Linked DNA regions of Homo sapiens: region 1 is linked to region 2. Evidence: promoter capture Hi-C in 16 types of primary human blood cells and fetal thymus (Javierre and others, 2016). All regions are on one chromosome and are shown on one strand. Each heading gives the region's core, a stretch centred on a gene start or on the middle of the fragment in contact. The rest is flanking DNA. Distances are from core to core; before and after follow the strand shown.

The links. Contacts are between HindIII fragments. The CHiCAGO score rates a contact against its expected background, and 5 or more counts as called.
Region 1: a contact is called between a fragment that was not itself captured here and the fragment with the promoter of LPCAT2 in region 2, in 1 of 17 cell types (monocytes). The highest score is 5.5, in monocytes.

What each region holds. Positions count from the first base shown.
Region 1 is chr16:55,662,527-55,667,133 of GRCh38, forward strand. The region is part of intron 2 of SLC6A2 (solute carrier family 6 member 2); the gene reads left to right. Among named protein-coding and RNA genes, the nearest start is that of SLC6A2, 8.8 kb to the left of the region's middle. The HindIII fragment of the contact is 4,440 bases long and covers 1-4,069 here.
Region 2 is chr16:55,506,464-55,511,567 of GRCh38, forward strand. LPCAT2 (lysophosphatidylcholine acyltransferase 2) reads left to right here and starts at 2,609. Exons shown (of 14, transcript NM_017839.5): 1 at 2,609-2,889. The coding sequence starts at 2,719. MMP2 (matrix metallopeptidase 2) reads left to right here. Exons shown (of 13, transcript NM_004530.6): 13 at 1-228. The HindIII fragment of the contact is 4,685 bases long and covers 1-3,457 here.

The DNA of each region.
Region 1 (4,607 bases), core at 600-3,099, 160 kb after region 2:
ATTTGTGGGTCATATTTCCCTCTGTGATGTAGTTCTGAGCAACCCTCTGATGTGTTTCTCTTAAAGAGACTAAGATGGAGGAAATGGAAACCAGAATCTTCACAGAGATTTTACTAAAGCCACAGCTTTATTAGGAAAAATCAAGTCCAGATCCTCCAAAGTGACGAGCAGATGGAGAATTACCACATGAGGAGGGGTAGCCCGGCGCCAGTTTCCCTGAATTCCACCCCCATTTTTCTACTTAGAGCAGCTGGGTTTAATCCATCAGGGGAGTGGGTGTGTTCCCTCAGTGGGCCTGTTTCCAGGTCTTTCACTCAACAACAACAATCAACACAGAAGACGTCTGTGACCACATGTTTGGGGGTTTCTCCCAGCACATCAGGCAAGTAATCAAGTCTGCAGCAGACACCAGCTGAGTGCCTCCGATTCAATTCAATTCTGGTGCTGTCTACCTGGAGATAGCATCAGATCCCACAGGTTGAGGCATTCCCACAAGAATGCCCCTCACTTTGTGTTCCTATAATGAGCCCCAGGTTGTTTTACTGTGCTTCTGACCCACTGTCTATAAATCAGGGTTCCCCCCACCCCTTGCTTGGGTTTGATTAATTTGCTAGAGTGGCTCACAGAACTCAGAGGAACACTTTATTACATTTTCTGCTATGGTTTAGATATGGTTTGTTTGTCTCCACTAAAACTCCTGTTGAAGTTTGAACCCCAGTGTGGGAGTGTTGGGAGGAGGGGCCTAGTGAGAGGTGTTTGGGTCATGAGAGTGGATCCCTTATAAATGGATTAATGTCCTTTGGAGAGGGTAAGTGAGTTCTCACGCCACTCTCTTGGTTCCCCTCTTGCCATGTGATCTCTGTACCCCTGATCCCCTTTCCTTTTCTGCCATGAGTGGAAGCAGCCAGAGGCCCCCACCAGATACAGCTGCCCAACCTTGAACTTTCCAGTCACCAGAATCATGAGACATATAAACCTCTTTTCTTTATAGATTCCCTAGCCTCAGGTATTCTGTTATAGCAATGCTAAACAGACCAAGGCACTCCCTCACCTTCACCTTGGGTCCCTCCAGCTGAGGTCTTACCATAGCTCTGTGTACTACTATGAAACCTATCTGTCTATCTATCTATCCATCTGTCTATCTATTGTTCTATTGTTCCTGGCTCAAAATACCAATAGCCCTTGTTGTAACATTGGGGCACGTTAGGCCTCAGAAAACAGAACCTCTCTCTCTTTGACCTTCTCCTGCCCTCCTTCCATCTGCTCCCTTATCTCTCCAAGGTAGGATTTTTCCCTGGCTTTTCTTTCTTGGAGCTGGCAGTAACAAAATTCTCTGACCCACTTTCTAATTGTGAGTCATAAAACCCCCATTTCAGAAGGAGTCCTGCCCCAGGCCCTGGGGGAAGGAATGCTGCACAGGGAGACCGAGAAGAATCTGAACAGACAGGCCTTGCTGGGCTTTCCCACTCAGCTTATTAGTATTACATCATACTCCATTCAATCATGGTGGCCAAACATGCCTATCCAATGACATCTCCATAGAAGGCCCAAGAGGACAGGGTTCAGGAGCTTCAGGAGAGGCAAACACGTGGAGGTTCCTGAGTAGGAAATGTCTGAGGGGCCATCTCAGCTTCAGAACTCTTCTAGGGTCAGCTAAGGTTTGGCCTGGCGTATCCTGTCCCCCGCTCTGGCCGGTGCTTCCATTCCCTAAATCTCTTCACTGCATGCATCCCCCTCCCACTACCTTCATGCCATCCTTCATGCAGCACTACAGGGCATTCTTTCTAGGTAATGGGGCTGGCTGTGGCCTGGGGGCATCCTTTGTCCTGCATTTGCTCATGGTCAGCACTCTTGTTTGCACACAAGAGTAGAGTAGCCAGCCCCACTTGGGACAGGGACTTGGGGATCCCAGAGCACTGCCGCAGAGTCCTGTGTGTGGCCTCCAGCTGGCGTTCATGCTGTGCTCCACAAAGGGCCCAGCCACCCTCCACCACACAAGACAGCCTTTACTTCCTGTTTCCAGTGGACAGAGCTGCTGCACATCTGCTCTTGAGTATAATGACAAGACATGGGTCCCATTTACGGAGCACCCACTAAGTGCCTGGCACTTCACCTCTGTCATCTCTGATTATCACAGCAAACCAGTGACACAGGTATTATTATCGCATTTACAAAGGGGGAGCTAAGGCTCAGAGAAGGCACATTTAGACAAGTCACATAGCTACACATAGCAGGGCTGAGGGACAGGATTATCTTTAGGTCCAGGCATGAAGGCCTGCCCTACCTCCATGCTTCAGAGAGCACAACTCTGCCCCCTTTCCATCTCATGGGAGCCAAGTGTGCCTGCCCACCCAGCACACTCCCCATACGAATACCCCACCACCCTCCAATACCCGGACGGTGGAATTCCCTGCCCAAACAGCCTCAGGCACCCTTCTGGGTCTACATGAACATCTTGCTGGGTTCCCTCTTTTGTGGTGTGGGCTGTGCTGCGGGAGGTGGGGGTGTCTGCAAGGCGGGTGGACATAGCTTGGACACCTATGTGCAAGAGCCCTGACATGGCTAGATTGAGCTGGGAGGAAGTAGGGGCAGGGCAAACGGGTCTTCCCCTGTACCTCCACATTCCAGCCTGGAGCTCCAAGAGCTGAGAATTCCAACCTTGAACTTTATAATAGAACTACTACAAAGGTCTCTTTGTCAAAGTAGGAAGACAGAACATGTTTTATTTAACAGTTGTTGATTTGTCACCTTTAAATGTGTCGAAGTGTGAGCAGCCTTGTCTCCTGACTAAAGTTTCACCTTCTCCTGATGCCTACTGTGCTGTTAGGGCACCCTTGGGGTGTTGGGGAAGGGGGACAAATCTAGCTTCCCTAAGTGTGGACCAAGGTTTTCTTGGGGGCTCTGGTGCATGACACCAGCAGCGACAGCCTGTAGCTGAGCTGTGTGTATCAAGGGAACTATTCTGTGGATTGGCACTTCTTGCATATATCAAGGTGTGGCCAGAATTCACAGTTCGAGGAATCCTGTCCTCAACAAACTAGGTGTCAGGGGAGCCTCTCTCCTTCCTGAAGCTCCTCTTTGACCACACTACCTCCACCTCCCCCGAGATCCTCAGCAGGTCTTGGCCACTGCACCCCTCACTGAACCCTTCCTCCAGGCTTTCCAGCCCTCTACCTGGGGTCCTCCTCACCTGCTGGGGGCTGCTCCAGCACATCCCACTCTAAACCTAATGACCCCGGGCTTCCCTTCCTGGGTACTTGGCATTTGCACAGAGGCTTCCAGAGCCCTTCTGTACCCAGAAGAGTTTCTCTCTAACAGTGGGATGGGAGGCAGTGTGGTTGGGCCAGAGGTGATGGGACTAATGCTTTTCTTACTAAATTCATCCAAAGGCCACTGTTCAGAGTTTCTTTCATGGTCGACAGTTCTTTTTCTCATGTGGTTGTGTGAGTGCGTTGACATGCAAAAGTGTGTGTCCATTTTGCATGAGTATGCACAGGTGTGCATTTGTGTGCATGCATATGGTTTTTGGAGACTCCCAGGCACTGGGCACTGAGCTCCTCATGAGGCATGCCCTGCCTGTGTTTTTCCAGGTCTGCCCTCACCAGCCCAGCACCCATGCAGCCAGGGCATTCCAAGATAAGATTCTGGCCTTGCAGTTCTGAGACTCTCGGACCCTGTGTGAGGCTGGTTGCAGCTGGCACTGCCACACATGGAGATGGAGCAGGACCACACAAGTATGGCAGTTACAAGCCTTGCAGAGCAGTACTTTTTAGGGGGTTTGCAACCAGCCTCGGTTTCCAGAGAACCACTGCAGAGCTGTTTATAAAAGAGGCAACTTCAGTTGACTTCACTCATCCCTGGAGCTCCTTCCTGACTCTTCAACCTGAAGAGTTTACTTCTGCAAGAGGAGAAGGAAACTCTCCCAGGTTTCCTTCTGCAAGAGTCCTTGGGCAAGCTAGCTGTCCTCTTTTAGAATAAGGCACTGGCCGCGGGTAGCTGGCTGTTTTTTCATTCCTACTTAGCCATTTCACCACTCTTTGGTCTTCTTAATCTGTTTCCACCTGAATGAAGCTTTGGCTGGCCCACATCAAATGCACTCACAGAGAAGAGCCGCAGGCACATGCAGACCCATCATCTTCCCTCCTTTTCTCATGTTACTGTGCCTCCCAGCCAGCAGAGGAAGAATAACTCCAAACTGGGCAGTTTACCTATGTGTTGGCAGTGTCACCCAGAGGTTTAGAGTTGAGGAAACTGGCCAAAGTGAGATGCCTGGTTAACTGGCTGATGCTGCTTTTCCCCTTCCTTGGCCATGCAGCAGAGTATTGAGTCGCTGGGGGCAACCCACAGTGGCGAGGTCGGAGCAGCGACTCCTAGCTTTTTCCTTCCCCACGTTCCCTTGGGCCACTGACTTCCATCTTCAGGCCTATCAAAGATTTTTTGTTTATTTGTTTGTTTTGTTTTCTTCTCTCTTTTTCTCTCTCTCTAAATTTTTTTTTTTTGAGTCAGCATCTCACTCTGTCACCCAGGCTGCAGGGCAGTGGCATGATCATAGCTCACTGAGCCTCAAACTCTGATGCCCAGGCTGTTCTTGAGTTCCTGGGCTCAAG
Region 2 (5,104 bases), core at 1,359-3,858:
TTATTGTGGCATCTGTTCGAGGTTTGCTTCCTCTTTAAGTCTGTTTCTTCATTAGCAATCATATCAGTTTTAATGCTACTACTAACAATGAACAGTAACAATAATATCCCCCTCAATTAATAGAGTGCTTTCTATGTGCAAGGCACTTTTCACGTGTCACCTATTTTAACCTTTCCAACCACATAAATAAAAAAGGCCATTATTAGTTGAATCTTATTGATGAAGAGACTGATGGCTCAAGAGAAGTGATTTTTCCAGGGTCCCATAGCTATTAGGGACCTACAAGGCCAAAGGATAGCCTAGCAGAGGAGCTTTAGCTCTCAAACCAGAATCTCACCACCCTCCGCCACCCTCAAAAACACCCCCACCACCTTCAAAACCGCTCCTGCTACCCTCCACCACCCCCAAAACCACGCTGGGTAAACACAGCTAAGGGAGAAATACTGTGCTTGCTTCTAAACACAGCTGGTATTAATGGATAAGCTCCTTACTCCTTCCTACCAGTCTACCCACTCCTAATCTCCTACATAGAAATTCTGGAGCTACTGCTGAACAGAAATTGAAGGCCTGGGGTTTTTCTGAGGCCCTTTCTGGCTCCGATAGTCTGATTGATAGTATATATATTGCTTCTGGCCTCTTATGATGGGGCTGGTGAGGAAGGTGCGTAAGGAGTGAACTCTACAGGTGACCTCCTCAGTGAGCCTGATGTCATTGTTTCTATCTCTTTTTTCTGTTTTTGAGATGGAGTCTCACTCTGTCACCCAGGCTGGAGTGCAATGGCGCAATCTCGGCTCACTGTAACCTCTGCCTCCCAGGTTTAAGTGATTCTCCTGCCTCAGCCTCCCAAGTAGCTGGGATTACAGGTGCACGCCACCATACCCAGCTAATTTGTTTTGTATTTTGGTAGAGACAGGTATCACCGTGTTGCCCAGGCTGGTCTCGAACTCCTGAGATCAGGCAATCCACCCATCTCGGCCTCCCAAAGTGCTAGGATTATTGGTGTGAGCCACCACTCTCGGCCCCATCTTTTCTATCTTTTATCCTCCCATGGCCTGTCCCCTTGACTCAGATTCTTTTTGTTTCTTCTTCTTCTTTTTTTTTCTTTTTTGAGACAGTGTCTTTCTCTGTCACCCAGGCTGGAGTGCAATGGCATGATCATAGCTCACTGCAGACTTGATCTTCTGGGCTCAAGCAATCCTCCCACTTCAGCCTCCTGAGTAGCTGGGACTGCAGGCATGCAACAGCACAGCCAGCTAATTTTTAATTTTTTTTAGAGATGGTGGAGTCTCTCTTTGTTGCCCAGGCTGGTCTCGAACTCCTGGGCTCAAGGGATCCACCCTCCTCAGCCCCCAAAGTGCTAGGATTACAGGCGTGAGCCACTGCACCTGGCCTGGCTTAGGTTGTTGACAGTTGGAAAGACATCTTTCTGTGCAGGTATCTGGCTAAAGAGTCTCAAGGGTCTGCCAGTCCCAACTTGAAGACCCCCTAGACTGGGGAATCTTCTATCATGGCTGTAATGCACTGTTATTAATGTTCCCTGTTACACTGAGAGAAAAGTCAGTGGCTCCACAACATAATAATGCTTAAAACATGCCATTTCTTCAGTGTTTCTCTATGAACACTACACATGCATTATTTTATTTAATCCTTGCTACAATTCTATGGAGTTAGAATGAATCTCCCATTCCTAGACAAGGAAGCAAACTCAGGTTAAGTGACTGACTCAAGGCCACACATCTATGTGGTAGGGCTGGAAGATTCTGACATTCAGAGGGTAACTTTGGAGAACCCCAGGGCTCAGACTCAGATTTTCATCCTGGCCTTCCTACCTGCTGTGAGAAGAGTTGATCAGTTGGGATGAGTTGATTATCATCTCCTTCCTTTAACTCTCAGCCACTCAGGGTTGATCAACTGTCCTCAGATAATGGGACAAACCCCTGCCCTCCCACCCCCACGAGCACCCACATAGGTCCAAACAGGCTTGAACTTCCTCAGTGTGAAAGGGAGCCACAGCCCAATACATTTCCCTTTTCTGGGTCAGGTTCCTCATCTAGCGTGGAGGGCAACTGTAATTTTTGCCTTTTCTGGTAATAGTAGCTCAGTTTTCCTCTGGAGAACCATCTCTCCCCTGTCAGTCCATTATGTTTTGAGTGAAACAAATTCCACTCCTAGTGCCATCATGGGTGTATTAATATTAGCTCACTTAATGGAACAGCCCAGGGGAAGTGGTTGCTCAATGGCATTACTGGATCCAGGTTAGGATTATCTGAGAATACATTTATCTGCATTTTACGGAAGGCAACCGAGGTTCATAGAGATAGTGATTTGGCCAGCGTCACAGGCCCAGTAAAAGGGATTGAAAATCCAGGTCCGTCCGACCCTAAAGCAGGGAACTCTGCCTAGTGTCTCGCTGTGGAATGTTAGGGATCCTGGGGTACCCTTCAGGGTCTTGGCTCGGAAGGAAAACATTCCCCTCCGAGGGGATGGACTATATTACCAAGGGGGTGGAGCCAGATGCCTGAGGGGGTGTGGCCAGAGCCTGGGGCGTGTCACAGCCGAAGGGGCAGGGCGGCAGCAGCAGGCGTCTAAGTAACTTCAGCGCCTGCGCAGAGGCTCCCCAGCGTCGCCCTAGGCTGGGACTCTAGTAGGTCTTCGGCTCAGTTTTGGCTGCAGCGCCCGCGTAGATCGCTTCGGCCGGGTTCTACGCCCGGCTCAACTATGAGCCGGTGCGCCCAGGCGGCGGAAGTGGCGGCCACAGTGCCAGGTGCCGGCGTCGGGAACGTGGGGCTGCGGCCGCCCATGGTGCCCCGTCAGGCGTCCTTCTTCCCGCCGCCGGTGCCGAACCCCTTCGTGCAGCAGACGCAGATCGGCTCCGCGAGGCGGGTCCAGGTGAGGGGCGTGGGTCTGAGGGGAGAGGTGGTCTGAGGGGGGCCTAGGTCAGAGGGGGGTCCAGGTAAGGGGTGTGGGTCTGAGAGAGGAGGGCGGCCGAGGGGGGCGTGGGTCTGAGGGAGTGAGGTGGTCCGAGGCGGGCGAGAGTCTGAGGAGGGAGGTGGCCTGAAGGGGGCATGGGTCTGAGGAGGGAGGTGGCCCGAGGGGAGCCAGGGTCTGGGGCGGGTCCAGGTGACTGGTGTAGGTCTGACGGGGGAGGGCGGTCGAGGGGCGCGTGGGTCTGAGGGGCGTTGTGGGTCTGGGAAGCAAAGGCATCAGAGGAAGAAAGAGCAGTGGATCTGAGAGGAGAGGACTTCTGAGGGGCCGTGAGCCTGAAAGGGGCGGAGATGTGTGTCTGAGAATTGAGGACATTTAGAGGATGGTCTGAGCGGGCACGGGAGGAGAGAAGATGCTGGGAAGATGCGGGCCTGAGAGGAGAATCCAAAACAGGAAGAGACTGAGCTGGCTGGTGGCGCAGGCTACATTCCATGCCCCAGAAGGTTGAAGGAATCTGTGAATCTGTGACAGAAGCTTCAACTTGAGTTTATGAGAGTGTAGTGGGAGGCAGATCTACTACGGGAGAGTAGATTTGAAGAAGTCTTTTTTTTTTTTTTTTTGCCTTAGGAAGGAGAGGAGTCAGTATGGGATGGATAAGAGTGAGGCAGAAGGCAGAGAGCCTAGGTCTGTGGTTAGAACAACAGGTAAGGCTGGAAAGATTTAGCTGAGCAGGAGCATGATGGAGGGTGGGAAGTCAGAATCAAAGAAAAGGGACAACTGAGTCAGCTTAGGATGTTCAAGAAGTTTTGGTCCAGAATCAGTCTTCACCTAAAAACGTTTCCTAAGTTGAAGCATGAGAAGTAGTAGCCCAGGCTGTTTTCCATTGTTAAAAATGGCTATACTGTTATGCACAAAGGAAGTTTCCTTTCCTTTCCTTTTTCTTGTAAAGGGTTCCTTTTACCATTGGCAGTTGCACTCTTTGGACTTCCTCTTTGTTGAAGTTAGTGATCAGAGAACAAGATAGACCCTGCTAACCACATTTGTCCGTGTGTTCTGCGGGGGTTGGGGGGGTGGGGGAACAATTTTGAAGTTTTCATGTCCATCTCACACATTACTTTGGATTTGAAGCAGTATAATATTTGCAATCAGCTTGTATGCACTAAGACCATTGTCCTCTACAGTGGGGGAAGGTTAAGTGCAGAGCTAAACAACACAGGTGGTGGCTTGAGTAATGGTAGATGGGTGTCTGGTTGAAGAGGGGTGTGAGAGAGGAAGAAGATAAAGAATGTAGTAATACTGCTTTGTGAGGAAATTAAACGTTTAAAAATGTGATCCTCATGTCTTTAAATTAATAGATATTCTTTTTGTGTCTTCACATTCTGAAACATTTGTAAATACATAGACCATTGTTCAAGATTAAATTTAGTCTGATTTAATTAAATCATACTTAAATGAAAATATGCCCATCTATTTGACTTCATATTTTGGAAAGAAACAGCATGGAATGTTGACAAATATTTATATTGCACCTATAATAAATTATTAAGTTTTTCCATCACCTGGTTTGTTACTGTTTAAAGATCTCTTCCAAATAACTCTCTGAGAGTTATAGTATAATGGAATGATAGCTAGTCAGTTATAGGAACTGGTCATTTATTAGTTGTATGACTTTGGCCAAGTCACTTAACCTCTCTGAACTATACTTTTCTCGTCTATTACATTGGAATATTAATAACTCAAAGGAGGGCTACAATTAAGTGAAATAATCTGTTATTGTTTGTTGATCTTAATATTGATAATATTGATAGTTATCCTATATATTTTCTACAAAGTATATACTGTACTTAAAATTTACTACTTGGATTAAATGGGATTTAACAAAGTCTGGATATTAAAAATACTTTTTAAATTTATATAGATCAGAGATACAAGAGGTTTCAGTGGCTTGAATCATCTGGGTAAAGGGAAGATTTGAATAGGCATGGTAGAAAAACAATGTCCATATTATCCAGTTTAAAAGGTGGACACACTTTCATTTAAGTATGACTTAGTATGATTAATTTAGACTAAGTTTAATCTTAAATGATGATCAATGTCTTGCTTAAGGACTGTTGTCCTCACATTTCACTAAGATAGTTAAACAAACAAGTACAAAAATATATAATCTCATGTTTTAGTA